Linked DNA regions of Homo sapiens: regions 2, 3, 4 and 5 are each linked to region 1. The links are contacts of gene promoters, found by promoter capture Hi-C in blood cells and fetal thymus (Javierre and others, 2016). All regions are on one chromosome and are shown on one strand. Each heading gives the region's core, a stretch centred on a gene start or on the middle of the fragment in contact. The rest is flanking DNA. Distances are from core to core; before and after follow the strand shown. Region 1 holds the start of FETUB (fetuin B). Region 2 has its middle 51 kb from the start of TRA2B. Region 3 has its middle 4.5 kb from the start of RTP1. Region 4 has its middle 39 kb from the start of ETV5-AS1. Region 5 has its middle 51 kb from the start of TRA2B.

What was found. The method cuts DNA at HindIII sites, captures the fragments that hold promoters and counts their contacts. A CHiCAGO score of 5 or more calls a contact.
Region 2: a contact is called between a fragment that was not itself captured here and the fragment with the promoter of FETUB in region 1, in 1 of 17 cell types (neutrophils). The highest score is 5.1, in neutrophils.
Region 3: a fragment that was not itself captured here is called in contact with the fragment with the promoter of FETUB in region 1 in 7 of 17 cell types (naive B cells, total CD4 T cells, total CD8 T cells and 4 more); the score reaches 6.1 in naive B cells.
Region 4: a contact is called between a fragment that was not itself captured here and the fragment with the promoter of FETUB in region 1, in 1 of 17 cell types (naive B cells). The highest score is 5.7, in naive B cells.
Region 5: a fragment that was not itself captured here is called in contact with the fragment with the promoter of FETUB in region 1 in 6 of 17 cell types (activated CD4 T cells, total CD4 T cells, naive B cells and 3 more); the score reaches 9.2 in activated CD4 T cells.

What each region holds. Positions count from the first base shown.
Region 1 is chr3:186,638,997-186,641,696 of GRCh38, forward strand. FETUB (fetuin B) reads left to right here and starts at 1,403. Exons shown (of 7, transcript NM_014375.3): 1 at 1,403-1,689; 2 at 2,034-2,144. The coding sequence starts at 1,465. HRG-AS1 (HRG and FETUB antisense RNA 1) reads right to left here. Exons shown (of 3, transcript NR_187317.1): 3 at 2,513-2,627. The HindIII fragment of the contact is 5,467 bases long and covers 1-2,280 here.
Region 2 is chr3:185,886,015-185,888,714 of GRCh38, forward strand. No RefSeq gene overlaps it. Among named protein-coding and RNA genes, the nearest start is that of TRA2B, 51 kb to the right of the region's middle. The HindIII fragment of the contact is 8,994 bases long and covers 1-2,700 here.
Region 3 is chr3:187,191,604-187,194,303 of GRCh38, forward strand. No RefSeq gene overlaps it. Among named protein-coding and RNA genes, the nearest start is that of RTP1, 4.5 kb to the right of the region's middle. The HindIII fragment of the contact is 1,787 bases long and covers 365-2,151 here.
Region 4 is chr3:186,038,508-186,041,207 of GRCh38, forward strand. No RefSeq gene overlaps it. Among named protein-coding and RNA genes, the nearest start is that of ETV5-AS1, 39 kb to the right of the region's middle. The HindIII fragment of the contact is 2,208 bases long and covers 214-2,421 here.
Region 5 is chr3:185,987,323-185,990,022 of GRCh38, forward strand. No RefSeq gene overlaps it. Among named protein-coding and RNA genes, the nearest start is that of TRA2B, 51 kb to the left of the region's middle. The HindIII fragment of the contact is 1,846 bases long and covers 442-2,287 here.

The DNA.
Region 1 (2,700 bases), core at 153-2,652:
TATTTCTCTCCAGAAATTAATTAGGGCTGTGCCTCAGTTAGTTTTATGTAGTTATAACAGAATATCAGAGACCAGGGAATTTATAATGAACAGAAATTACTTTGGCTCATGGTTTGGGGGGCTGGGAAGTCTAAGATCGAGGGGCTATACCTGCTGAGAGCCTTCATGCTACATCATAACATGGTGGAAGGCATCACACAGGTGAAAGGAAGAGAGAAGGGGACCAAACACATCCTTTTATCAGGAACTCACTTTCAAGATAATGGCATATTCCATTCATGAGGGTGGAGCCCTCATCAGGATAGGATAATCCTCTCAGCATTACACAATAGCCACCACTGTGTACCAGCAAGCACACAGAAGGATTCAGCAGTTCCTAAACTTATTTGAATGCAGAATCCTTGGACAGGGACAGGAAGGAAGAGAAGGGCTAGGAGTAGGGAGAGAGTTAGGGGGTGGTTACTCACCTCATGGACTAGGGCTTTATAGAATGCCCTTCATGATAACCTCTTCTAGAGGCTTCTTTCCCATTTTGTCTCTTTTCTCTCATGACAAACTACTGCTGATATGTGTTTTTTGTTGAAATACAGTTTTTAAAAGATAATTGTCTTTTGTATGGTCCCAATAAGTAGAACCTTTCTGAATCACAAATAGAAGCTAAAAAAAAAAAAAAAAAAAGAAGGCAAGAGTCCCAACCAATGTGTTGCCACCCACCTGCCCTTCAGTATCTTTCTTTTAGCAAGAGTATGGGGCTTTAGTCTCTTAATGAGCTTGCTTCCATACATATGCATAAAAGGAAGAATAGGCTTGAAATACAATGTGAGAACTTTTTATATCTCTTTGACTTTTTCCCCTTAAGTAAAGTCATTGTTTAAAAATAACTTAAATGATGATAAGTAGAACATTTTCCACCCAGATGGCCAAAGTGCTTAAGGAATCTCAACTGTGCTTCTGGCAGATGACTGTGGGGTTCAACTACCTCCCTGATCTAACAAGGGCTTTGCACACAGAGTGTCAGCCAGGAAGTCTGAATTCACCAAGCACCACTGGGACATAAGATAACTATTAGAGTGGCCAAGGAGACCTCCACAGCAAAGGTGTTAGGGGAGAGGGGGAGAATGGGACAGTCCTCCATATTCCTATTCAGGAGGGGACCTGCAAATCAGAATCTAATCATAAGAGCCTTGAACAAATGTTATGATTTCTCAGGAAACAGTTGGGAAACTTAAATTCATTTGTATGTACAGGTGGATATGAGGTTGCTCAAGGGTCTAAGGTTAGAATCATTGGGAAATGCTATCCAAAGTACTGACTTAGGAAAATCCAAGTTCAGAATTCAAGGTGAACTTGGTTAGCCCTTCCAGTTGTAACAAAACCGCTCAAGTCTGCCTTAAAGAGCCTTACAAGCCAGCCAGTCCCTGCAGCTCCACAAACTGACCCATCCTGGGCCTTGTTCTCCACAGAATGGGTCTGCTCCTTCCCCTGGCACTCTGCATCCTAGTCCTGTGCTGCGGAGCAATGTCTCCACCCCAGCTGGCCCTCAACCCCTCGGCTCTGCTCTCCCGGGGCTGCAATGACTCAGATGTGCTGGCAGTTGCAGGCTTTGCCCTGCGGGATATTAACAAAGACAGAAAGGATGGCTATGTGCTGAGACTCAACCGAGTGAACGACGCCCAGGAATACAGACGGGCAAGTAGGGACAGTTCCCACTCTGGGGCAGGGATGTGGGCAAGCTGGAGAGACTGGCCAGGGTGAGGGAACCCAGAGACACCCTGGCAGGTGTTTTCTGTATTGGAAGCCCTGCCGAGAACTCTCTGTTCTCCTCTGCCAGGGTCAGCAACAACGCACTTATTGTTAGTAAAAACAAGTGTTAACAGTGATCCTACTCTGACACTTGTGTCAGATTTAATGGTTTACGGGGAATCTTCACAAATATTCTTTGGCTTTGCCATAAAGCAGGGGTTTTTTTGTGTGGTCTTTCTAGGTTTCTACTTCCTGTGAAATGTATTGCATTTCTCTACCCCTTCCCACAGGGTGGCCTGGGATCTCTGTTCTATCTTACACTGGATGTGCTAGAGACTGACTGCCATGTGCTCAGAAAGAAGGCATGGCAAGACTGTGGAATGAGGATATTTTTTGAATCAGTGAGTGCTTGTTTTTATAAACCATTAAGGGCCCTAGGGAAAGCAAGTAGGTACACTCTTTCTACAGGGTCAAGGGTGCTCAATATCTGTCATCTTTTAAATGGCCCACTTTATAATCTCCTGGCAGGTGCCCATAAGCTTATTCTAATGCTCTAGACAGAACAAAGTTTAATTCATGAGAGGGGTTTCTGAGAAGTCCCATTGGGGTCATGCAGAACAGAATGGAAAAGTTGCCCCAAGTTGTGTTTTTACCTCCAAGACCTTCCGTTAGGCTCTGAACCAGTGTTTCAATTGTGAGAAAAAGACCTGAGGTGTGAATATTCTGGACGTGGGGTTAATGTAGACTGCAGAAGTGATGGAGGTAGAGCTTTGTCTATTTGTTTTATTTTGCTTTGTTTCAATAAACTCCGATGCCAGGTTTGAGGGGAGGAAAATGGATGACTTGCAGTATGAAAGCTCTCAAGGGCGCCGTGTAAGGATTTCCTGAAACCACAGAGCATAATAAAGGGCCTCAGAATTAATCTTCTAAAGATGATCATAGAAGAGACTTGAAAAT
Region 2 (2,700 bases), core at 144-2,643, 750 kb before region 1:
TATATGGATATACCACATTTTGTTTTTTGTTTTTTGTTTTTTTGTATTTTGTTTTGAGACAGAGTCTCACTCTGTCGCCCAGGCTGGAGTGCGGTGGTGCAATTTCAGCTCACTGCAACCTCTGCCTCCTGGGTTCAACTGATTCTCCTGCCTCAGCTTCTGGAGTAGCTGGGATTATAGGCGTGCGCCACCACGCCCAGCTAATTTTTGTATTTTTAGTATAGACGGAGTTTTGCCATGTTGGCCAGGCTGCTCTCGAACTCCTGACCTCAGGTGATCCACCTGCCTGGGTCCACATTTTGTTTAACTATTCATCAGGAGCTGGACATTTACGTTGTTTCCAGTTTTGAGCTATTAGGAAGAATTCTGCTGTGAACATGTGATTGCATGTTTTTTTGTGTGTGGATATATGTTTTTATTTTTGTTGGGTACATTCCTAGAAATGGAATGGCTGGGTTTTAGAACAAACTTATATTTTAAAAACACTATCTGGCTGAGTGTGGTGGCTCATACCTGTAATCCCAGCACTTTGGGAGGCTGAGCTGGGCAGATCACAAGGTCAGGAGATCGAGACCATCCTGGCTAACACGGTGAAACCCCTCTCTACTAAATACAAAAAGTTAGCTGGGCATGGTGGTGCACACCTGTAATCCCAGTTACTTGGGAGGCTGAGGCAGGAGAATCACTTGAACCTGGGAGATGGAGGTTACAGTGAGCTGAGATTGTACCACCGCACTCCAGCCTGGGCAAGAGAGCAAGACTCCATCTCAAAAAAAAAAAAAAAAGAAAAAAGAAAGAAAGAAAAGAAAAGCCGGGAGCGGTGGCTCACGCCTATAATCCCAGCACTTTGGGAGGTCAAGGCAGGCAGATTACAAGGTCAGGAGTTCAAGACCAGCCTGGCCAGCATGGTGAAACCCTGTCTTTACTAAAAATACAAAAATTAGCCAGGTGTGGTGGCGGGCACCTGTAATCCCAGCTACTCAGGAGGCTGAGGCAGGAGAATCACTTGACCCCGGGAGGCAGAGGTTGCAGTGAGCCGAGATCACACCACTGCACTCCAGCCTGGGTGACACAGCGAGACTCCATCTCAAAACAAAACAAAACAAAACAAAACCTACCTGTTTTCCAAAGTGGCTCTACCATTTTTGTATTTCTGCCACCAGTACGTGAGGGTTCCAGTTTCTCTACTTCCTCACCCACATTTGTTCTTTTCTGTCTTTGTAATTATAGCCATTTTAGTGTGTGTGAAGTGATATCTCATTGTGGTTTAAAGTTGCATTTCCCTAGTGACTAATGATGTTGAACATATTTTCATGTGCTTATTAGCCATTTGCATGTCTTTTTTGGTGAAATGTTTATTCAAGTCTTTTGCCCATTTTTCAAATTGAGCATTGTTTGTCTTATTATTGAAGTGTAAGAGCTCTATATATTCTGGATACAAGTTCTTTATCAGATACGTGATTTGCAAATAACTTCTCTCAATTGATGGCTTGTGTTTTCATTTTCTTAATGTTATCTTTTGATTCCATTGTCACAGATGTCAGCCTAAAACTGGAAGTATTTAAAATTTAAATTGAAGCAAGATTTTACAGTATATGATAAAAATTCATTATATTTTTCTCTTCTATTTTCATACAGCAAAATGCAATATAAACAGTTTTTCACAATAGTAATAAAAATTTAATTGACTTGATTTAAAAGCAAAGATATTGATTTAAAAGCAAAGAAAACGATAAAACTATAATGTGATAAAGGAGTATATGAATATAGAAGAGATAATCCTTGCTTGAGAAGGATCAATATCGTAAAGATGACATTTTCACAGTGAATATATAAAGTTCCATTCAACAAGCATTAAAAAAATTTCTTTAAATTTTTACTTTTTTTTTTTTTGAGACAGAGTCTCTCTTTGTCACCCAGGCTGGAATGTAGCGGCGTGATCTTGGGTCACTGCAACCTCCGCCTCCTGGGCTCAAGCAATTCTCCTGCCTCAGCCTCCTGGGTAGCTGGGATTACAGGTGCCTGCAACCATGACCGGCTAATTTTTTCTATTTTTAGTAGAGACAGGGTTTCACCATGTTGGCCAGGCTGGTCTTGAATCCTGACTTCAAGTGATCTGCCCTCCTTGGCCTCCCAAAGTGTTGGGATTACAGGCGTGAGTCACTGCACCCAACCTCAACAAGCATTTTTAATACTTATTATATGTTAATCATTATATTCAATGCTGTAAAAAAATATATGAACAAGACATTCTGACATTTACAGGTACTGAGACACTGGAGTCACTATGTGGAAAGGAATTAGCTTGGATTTTTACCTTATCTCTTACAATGTAATGAGCCCCAGGTGAATCTTCCATTTATTCCCTCTGTTCTCTTTATGTATTACTGCATAACAAATCACTCTCAAAACCTAGTGGTGTAGAACAACAGTAATTTATTTTGCTTAAGAATATGCAACTTGAGGAGAGCTTGACAGGGATAACCCTTCTGTGTTCTACAATGTCTAGGGCCTGCATTTGGAAAACTCAAATGGATGATAGTGAATCAAATGGCTGGAGGCTGGAGTGCCAAGAGGTATCTTTGCTCACAAGACTGGTCCCTAGACTAGGAAGGGCCTTTAGAATAAATATCTCTGAAAGAAGCAATGAAAGTGACTAGGAGAAGAATGGAAACCTTCAGGAAGAGCTGTAGAGTAGGC
Region 3 (2,700 bases), core at 8-2,507, 550 kb after region 1:
CTTGCTGGATTAGTTTACTCTTTGGCTACTTTGCCTTTTTGATCCTTAGTTTGCTTTTTTTTTTTTTTTTTTTTGCAAAATAATGTCAACCTCTACCTACATCATAGAATTGGACATCGTGTTCTCAAGGCACTAAGCTCTTTGAAGGATGAAGAAAAATAATCAGGTACTGTGGTAGAAAGTCTCCAAAGATGGCTGCCACCAATTCCTTCCCTTCCTATAGGCACAGGCAATTTCCCCATCAAGAGTTGAAGTTTATTTCCCATTCCCCTATATCGGGCTGGCCCTGTGATTGCTTTCATCAACAGAATATGACAGGAGTGATGTTATGGGACTTCTGACTCTAGCCTTAAGGAGGACTGGAAGCTTCCATTTATTCTTCCTAGAATGAATCTTCTTGGAAACAAACTACCATGTAGTGAAGAAGCCTGAGCAGCTAAAAGGAAAGACCCAAGTGGAGAAATACCATAATGGTGAATAAGGCATTATGAAAGTTCACAAATGGCAGAGGCATTGTGGAGAGGAAGGGAAGTCCATATTCACGGTAATTGTTTCTTCCAGTGAAAACAAAGGTCTATCCCTTCCTTGATGGAAATGGTCCAGTGTAATCAACTTGCCACCAGGTCGTTGGTTGTTTCCCATGGAATCATGGCCCAATCAATTGTTCAGTGTTGGTCTCTCTCTGTTTTTGGAATTTGGGCATTGTATTAGTCCATTCTTGCACTGCTAAAAAGAAATACCTGAGACTGGGTAATTTATTAATATAAAGAAAAGAGGTTTAATTGGCTCAGGGTTCCATAGGCTGTACAGGTAGCATAGCTGAGGAGGCCTTAGGAAACTTACAATCATGACGGAAGGTGAAGGAAAGCAGGCTTGTCTTACGTGGCTGAAGCAGGAGGAAGAGAGAGCGAAGGGGGAGGTGCTACACTCATTTAAACAACCAGATCTCATGAGAACTCACTCACTATCACCAGAAGAGCAAGGGGGAAATCCACCACTATAATCCAATCACCTCCCACCAGGACCCTCTTCCAACATTGGGGATTACAATTCAACATGAGATTTGGGTGGGGACACAAATCCAAACCATATCAGGCACTTAGCAGTGGATTTAGAGAATTCCTTATATACCATTGTGATATTCCATATAGCATTGCTTCTGACTGGCAACTCATTTCAAAGTAAAGGAAATCTGGCAATGAGCTCACACTCATGAAATTCATTAGTCTTAACTATATCACCCATAATCCTGAAGTAGTTGGCCTGATTGAACAATGTGGTGGTCTTTGGAAGACTCAGTTATAGAATCAGCTGGGGGACAGGACCTTGCAGGGCTAGGATAATGTTCTCCAGGATGTGGTACATGCTCAGAATTAGCAACCATGATGATATAGTGCTTAGTTCCAAGAATTAAAGGGTAGAATGGACTGGCTTTCTCAAAATTAGCCCTAATGGTAAACTAGTTTTTTTTCCCTTTTCTTTCTGTACCCATAACTTTGATCTCTGCTATTTTAGAAATCTTAGTACCCAAGGAAAAAAAATGTTGCCATTAGAGAAGAAAATTAAAAATTCCTTTAAAGTTGAGACTACTACATGGGCTCTTAATATCATTAAATCAACAGATGGAGGGGCTTACTGTTCTGGTCCAGCAATGTTGGGGCATTCTGGAAGGAAAGAGTCTTTGTTTTGGGACTGTGAGGCACATTTAGATCTTTGGTACAGGGTACCAGTAGAAACTTCCAGTCATGGGTCCAGCCCTAAAACACACCCCTCCTTCTTCTCAAATGCCATTTAGGGATAGAAAATTGTGCATAGTTGAGAATTTTTCATGAGTGCATCATTTCAAGAAAAAAAATTAGAGGCTTGTTTTTTCTTTTCATTGCTCTATTTTCTAGTTGGGAACTTAATTTAAAGCATTTTATCCACTTAAAACATGATCACAAACTTTAAGAAATTGACCAGGGTGAGGCCAACAGCTTTAGAGATGTCTGAATTGGCCTTCTCTAAATTGTAGATTCCATGGTGTTAGAGGTCATTTGATAGAGAGCAAGTTGCAATACCACAGTATTTTTTTCTGTCTTGATAGAAATTTTTATTAGAGAAAATACTCTGCTATCCAGAAGGATGCATTATATTGGCCTCTGCACAGCAAGCTTGGGTTCTAAATAAAACTTAATTTGTGCCAATGGGGATTGCATCAGCTGGTTACACACACACACACACTCACACACACACACACACACACCCCTCTGGTGATTCTTACTTTCTGTCTTCTGTCATCATAGTGTTTATTGTAGCAACACCTGCAAAATACTTCTAGAGGATTTGTTCTGGGTAGCACTGTTTGTTATAAGCTCCTCTCAGCTTCACGTATTTTCTGGGAAGGTCCACAGCCCCCATTCTCATTTTGGCCAGTAACTCCCACCTGAGGCAGTTCCCATCATATCTGTGAGGTTTGTTAAACGAGTTTACTTATTTAGGTGTTGGTTGCCTTAATTCAGAGGTAAGAATACTGACTTGAAGGACTGAAAGTTTAATGAAGGGTCCTGAAGAACTTAAGAGTTTTTCCCAATGCCGGCCAGGTGAGATGGCGCATGCCTGTGATCTTAGCACTTTGGGAGGTGGAGGCAGGAGGTTTGCTTGAGCCCAGGAGTTTGGGACCAGCCTGGGCAACACAGCAAGACCCCGTCTCTACATAAA
Region 4 (2,700 bases), core at 68-2,567, 600 kb before region 1:
CTATTGGCTGCCAGGGAAAGTTGCTCAACCCACCCTGCTACAAAACTGACTGGAAGGGTGGGGGCCAAGGGAAGCTGCCGGCTGCTGGGTGCTGCTGACTACTGTGCACTGCAGTAGCTGGGCACTGGAGAAGCTGTGATCCTTGGAGGAGGCTGCACATGGGAACTAGGAAGTAAAATGCTTTTCTCTTTCAGTATCACTCTAGCACCCCAAAGCTTCAGCGCCAGCCACCAAAGGAAAAATGTTTAAAGGGCCCAGATCAACTTTACAGAGGAAACAGACAAGGGTGAATTTGAGCTGAGAGGCAATATATAGATAATGGGCACAGCCACACTGCAAGGAATGCTGGGAAATATAGCCCACCCGCATATTTACCTAACAATCTTATTACTGAAAGAGAAGAAAAATGATTTTGGTGGACAGGTAGCACTCTCTGCCACATGATATTTCTTAGACTTAAAATGGAAAAATAGGAATAGAATTGATGCTAAACCCATCTCATTCTTGCAGTGAACTAGTGGACAAAACCAATAACACTCCCATCTAGCTCATTCAGAGATTCAATTCAGACAGATTTTTACTTTTTATGTTTAATAAGTGTATATCAGATTTGGTGATATATTTATGTTTTTTGATCAATTGTGAACTAATACTTGTAATCACTAAATACAGAATAATTTTTAAGATATATAGCTTTATTGTCAAAGGAAATTATCTAAAATAATTTGTTGTATACAGGTATAATAGAGTAAAAAAAAAATTTTTCTTTTGGGATGGAGTTTCTTTCTTGTCGCCCAGGCTGGAATGCAATGGCACAATCTCAGCTCACTGCAACCTCCACATCCCAGGTTTAAGCAATTCTCCAGCCTTGCCTCCTGAGTAGCTGGGATTACAGGTGCCTGCCACCATGCCCAGCTAATTTTGCATTTTTAATAACTAAATTGTGATAATATTTTTAAATGTCAGAATTTATAATAAATGGGAAATTATTTTTACAATACGGTGGAAATTATTAAGGGTCGACTTAAAACAGTGCTAAAGGATACCTAGATTTTCAAAATTCTTTTAGAGAGAAGGTAAGGAAAAAATGTGAAAACTACTGATCGAATTCATCATTTCATCCTCAACATCTGGCTCAGAACGCAGTACATAATAAGTGCTCAATAAATATTATTTGAATAAAGATAAGAAAGAATGAATGGTAAACAGAGGGGTACATACAAATAATGCCCAATGTAGACAAAGGTTGTAAGAACCTAGGCGAAAGAAGTTGCAGGATACTAGTAAAGGTACAAATCCTCACAATCTTTCTGGAAGGCTTTTTGCAGTCTATATAAATGGCTTTAAAATTTGCCCCCCTTTTGACCAAATCATATATCTTCTAGGAATTTATCCTGGAAGTCGTAAGTGAACAAAGATGCTCATAACTGCACTCAGTCAGTCAATACATATTTCTTAATCACCTACTCTTTATCGTAGATAAAGCAGTTAGGTACGGTCCTGCCTTCATAAAATGTACCGTTTATTGGGGGAGGCCAAGTAACTAATGTTGCAAATGAAAGGTTAAAAATTGTGAGAAGTTCTATAAAAAATAGATAGCAAGCACTGAAAGAGTATTAAAATGGTGTTGGAGGGGAATGAGAGCAAATCTTGGAAGGCTTGGAAAATGCAATTATTCATTTATTTGAAAGATAAACTGATTGTTTTCCCTGGGGTGCTCTTAGAAATGAGAGTAAAGAATGGGTGGAGGGTAAGCTGCTTGGAGGCCAGAGATGGATTCAGGGGCGGGATAACATTTCAGCTCCAGGGAATAGCTCGTGTCAAGGATGGAACAGGAGGGATCAAGGTATGGTTGAGACACTGGAAGAAGGCGAGGGGCTGTGGAACATATATTACAGGGGAGAGGATGGTGCATGGTGAGGCTGAAGAGGTATTGCCAAAGGCCAAGTTCAGGATTTTGGTTTTATCTCAAACAATGACTATATTTTCAGAGGAATAATTAACATAAAATAAAATGCACAGACTTCAGGTGTTCAGTTCAATGAATGTTAACAAACATATACATATAACAGTCACCCAAACCAAGATATAGACAATTTCTGTCAATCACCCCAGCATGTTCCCTCTACCCCTTTCCCGCCAATACCTGTCCACCCATCCCTTGCTACCGCTTTCTATCACCATAGGTTAGTTTTGGCTATTCTAGAATTTCATATATTATAGAATAACACAGTATGTATTCTTTTGTGTTATTATTTAGTTTAACATAATGTTTTTGAGATTCATCCATACTGCTATGTGTATCTGTAGTTCATTTTCTTTTATTGCTGAGTAGTATTCTGTTGTATGGATACCATGACTTGTTTATTTGTTCTCTGGTTGACGGGCATTTGGGTTGTTTTGAGTGGCTGTTGTAAATAAAGCTTCTATAAATGTTCTTGCATACGTCTTTTTGTAATACATGTTTATATCTCTTTTTGGCAAATACTTAGAATTGGAATTGCTGGATCATAGAGTAGATGTATGTTTACCTTTGTAATAAACTGCCAAATAGTTTTCCAAAGTTGGTTGTACCATTTAACACTCCTGCCTGCATTGTATACTTGCCAACATGTGGTGTTGCTGGTCTTTTTTACTTTAGCCACTCCAGTGGGTATCACTGAAAAGTCTCAAGTAGGGGAGTAACTCGCGCTTAAAAAC
Region 5 (2,700 bases), core at 115-2,614, 650 kb before region 1:
CAAATAAAGCATTCCCTCATTGCTTCTGGCAAATGTTTGGCCATGGGGAAAAGAAAGAAGCAAGTAACCAACATTTGTTGAAAACTGTACTGTTTCATAGTCATCATTTTTATTTATTTATTTACTTATTTTGGAGACAGGGTCTTCTTTTGTCATCCACAATGGAGTGCAGTGGCATGATCACAGCTCACTGCAGTCTTGACCTCCCAGACTCAAGTGATCCTCTTGCCTCAGCCTCCCGAGTAGCTGGGACTACAGGCATGTACCACCATGCCCGGCTAATTTTTTTTATTATTTTTTAGCAGTGGCAGGGTTTTACCATGTTTCCCAGGCTGGTCTCGAACTCCTGGGCTCAAGGGATCCTCTCATGTCAGCCTCCCAAAGTGCTGGGATTACAGGCATGAGCCACTGCGCCTGGCCTCATAGTCACTCTTTTATTTAAGCTTAGTATCTCCCTGAAAAGTTGGTGTATGTGGCAAAGACTAGCTAGATGTTTACCAATCTTGGTTTCCTTGTCTTCTTTGGTACACAGCTGGACCTCATTTCTCAGCGTTTTTTGCAATTACAAAAACACTGTAATTAAAAAATTAATTACAGCTGTAGGACTGTTCTAGACACTAGCATGTGAGTGGAAGTGGTGTGTGACACTTCTAGGCCTGGCATAAATCTCTTCCACTTGCCACAGTCCTCCATCATCTTCCCCTCACCTTTGGACTGATGTCCATGCTGATGACTTTGGTGGAGCCCAGCCACCTAAATTCCCTCTTAGAGGAGAGCGGCTCACAGATTAGGAGCACCTGTTTTCAATTTTATGTGAACACAAAATAAACTTCCATAACATTAGAGGCAATTGACATTTTTGAGGGTGTGTGTTTATTATAGCAGCTATCATCACCTTAATCAGTACAGTATTTTTATGCCCATTTTATGGAGAAGTAAACTGAGGCCCAGAGAGTCGAGTGACTTGCCCAAGGTCACACAGCTGAAAAGTAATGAATTCGAACCCAGATTTATCTAGCTGTTGAACCCAGATTTATCTAGCTGTTAAACCCAGGATCTTTCTACAATGACACACTGCCTCTAAATTCAACAACACATTCTGTAGTGCCTAGTTTGTGCTTTCTTATCCTATTGGAAACCCCATCCCACCCACATCTGATGGAGCCTCCAAAATACAAGCAGACAGGAGAGAAGAGTTGGGGTAATGGGGGGCTGAATCATCAAGATTTCAATTTAGTATCAAGTTGCTTAGGGGGAAATCCATATGCAGCTCCCAAGTCCTTCTGAAAGCCAGGTGGGGGCAGCTGGCACAGAAAAATGGGGTCTGTAGTTCCCCTGCCTGCCATCAGGGACCTGAAAATCCTAGGGGAGTTTTTAATTCCCAGTGGCACTCTTGCTGGTCCTCTTGTTCATTAACATCTGTGTCCCTCCAATTTGGGCTCTGGCTTGAACTCTATGAACTGCTCAAAGAGGCTCTTGCTACCTCTTTGTTCAAACAGACAATGGCTGCAATAACAAAGAGGAAAATCAGATGCAGGTGAAAGTTTATTTTTAACATTTCCGAGGCCAAATGAGGATTTAACATGAAAATCAGAGCCCTCACTTCCGCCTGCTCTCTCCAAAAGTGGCTGGGGTGCTTTTGGCTGGCCCAGACTCCAACACTCTTGGATCCCTTCCAAATGAGTACACCACTGATGAGGTAGACAGTTTAGTCTTTCTGAGCCTTCTTTTGGCAAGAAATAGACATTTTGTTTGGAGATGAGGTTAAACTTGAACCCGTACATTGTGATTAGCTTAGGAAGCCAGGCTGCCCTGGCCACCCCAAATATGTGAGGTTGTCTTTACATGTTATTTTATTTTATTTTTTTGGGACAGAGTCTCGCTCTGTTGCTCAGGCAACAGAGTGCAGTGGCACAATCTCAGCTCACTGCAACCTCGCCTCCCAGGTTCAAGCAATTCTCCTCCCTCAGCCTCCTGAGTAGCTGGGATTACAGGCATGCACCACTACACCTGGTTAATTTTTGTACTTTCAGTAGAGACAGGGTTTTGCCATGTTGGCCAGGCTGGTCTTGAACTCCTGGACTCAAGTGATCTGCCCACCTTGGCCTCCCAAAGTGTTGGGATTACAGGCATGAGCCACTGTGCCCGGCCCTGTCTTTACATTTTAGTCAAATCAGACTGAAGCCTGAACAAATGTGTAATAAAGTGAAAATTCTTTGAAACCATGAGTCTGAAAGCTCCCTTGGGGATGAGCTCCTAGCTTGCCTCTCTTGTGTGGCTCGTCTGAAGCTTGCAGATGGCAGAGGCCTGTGAGGTTCCTGTGAGAAACAGCAAGAATTACCAGGAGCTGGTGTGCCTGGAGCATCTGCATTGTGCAAGGTACTTAACCCCTTTATCCAGTCATCATAACCATCTCCTGAGTTCAGAATCATTATCAGCAGTGTTTGAGGGAACCAGCCCAGAAAGGTGCGGAGTCAGCCCATTCCTTGCAGAGCATACCTAAGATTATTCGACTCCAAGGCCAATTTTCTTTCCATTGTACCATAGTGTGAATGAGCATTAGTTTTCTGTTCCCTGATTTCCCACCTACCAGCAGGAAGCAGAAAAGTGCAGAAATGGTCTTGTGCTTTTGTCCTCCTGAGAACCCAGCAGTGGTAGCTTTCCTGTAGAAACTCAGAAAGGAGAAGTTATGGGTTCATG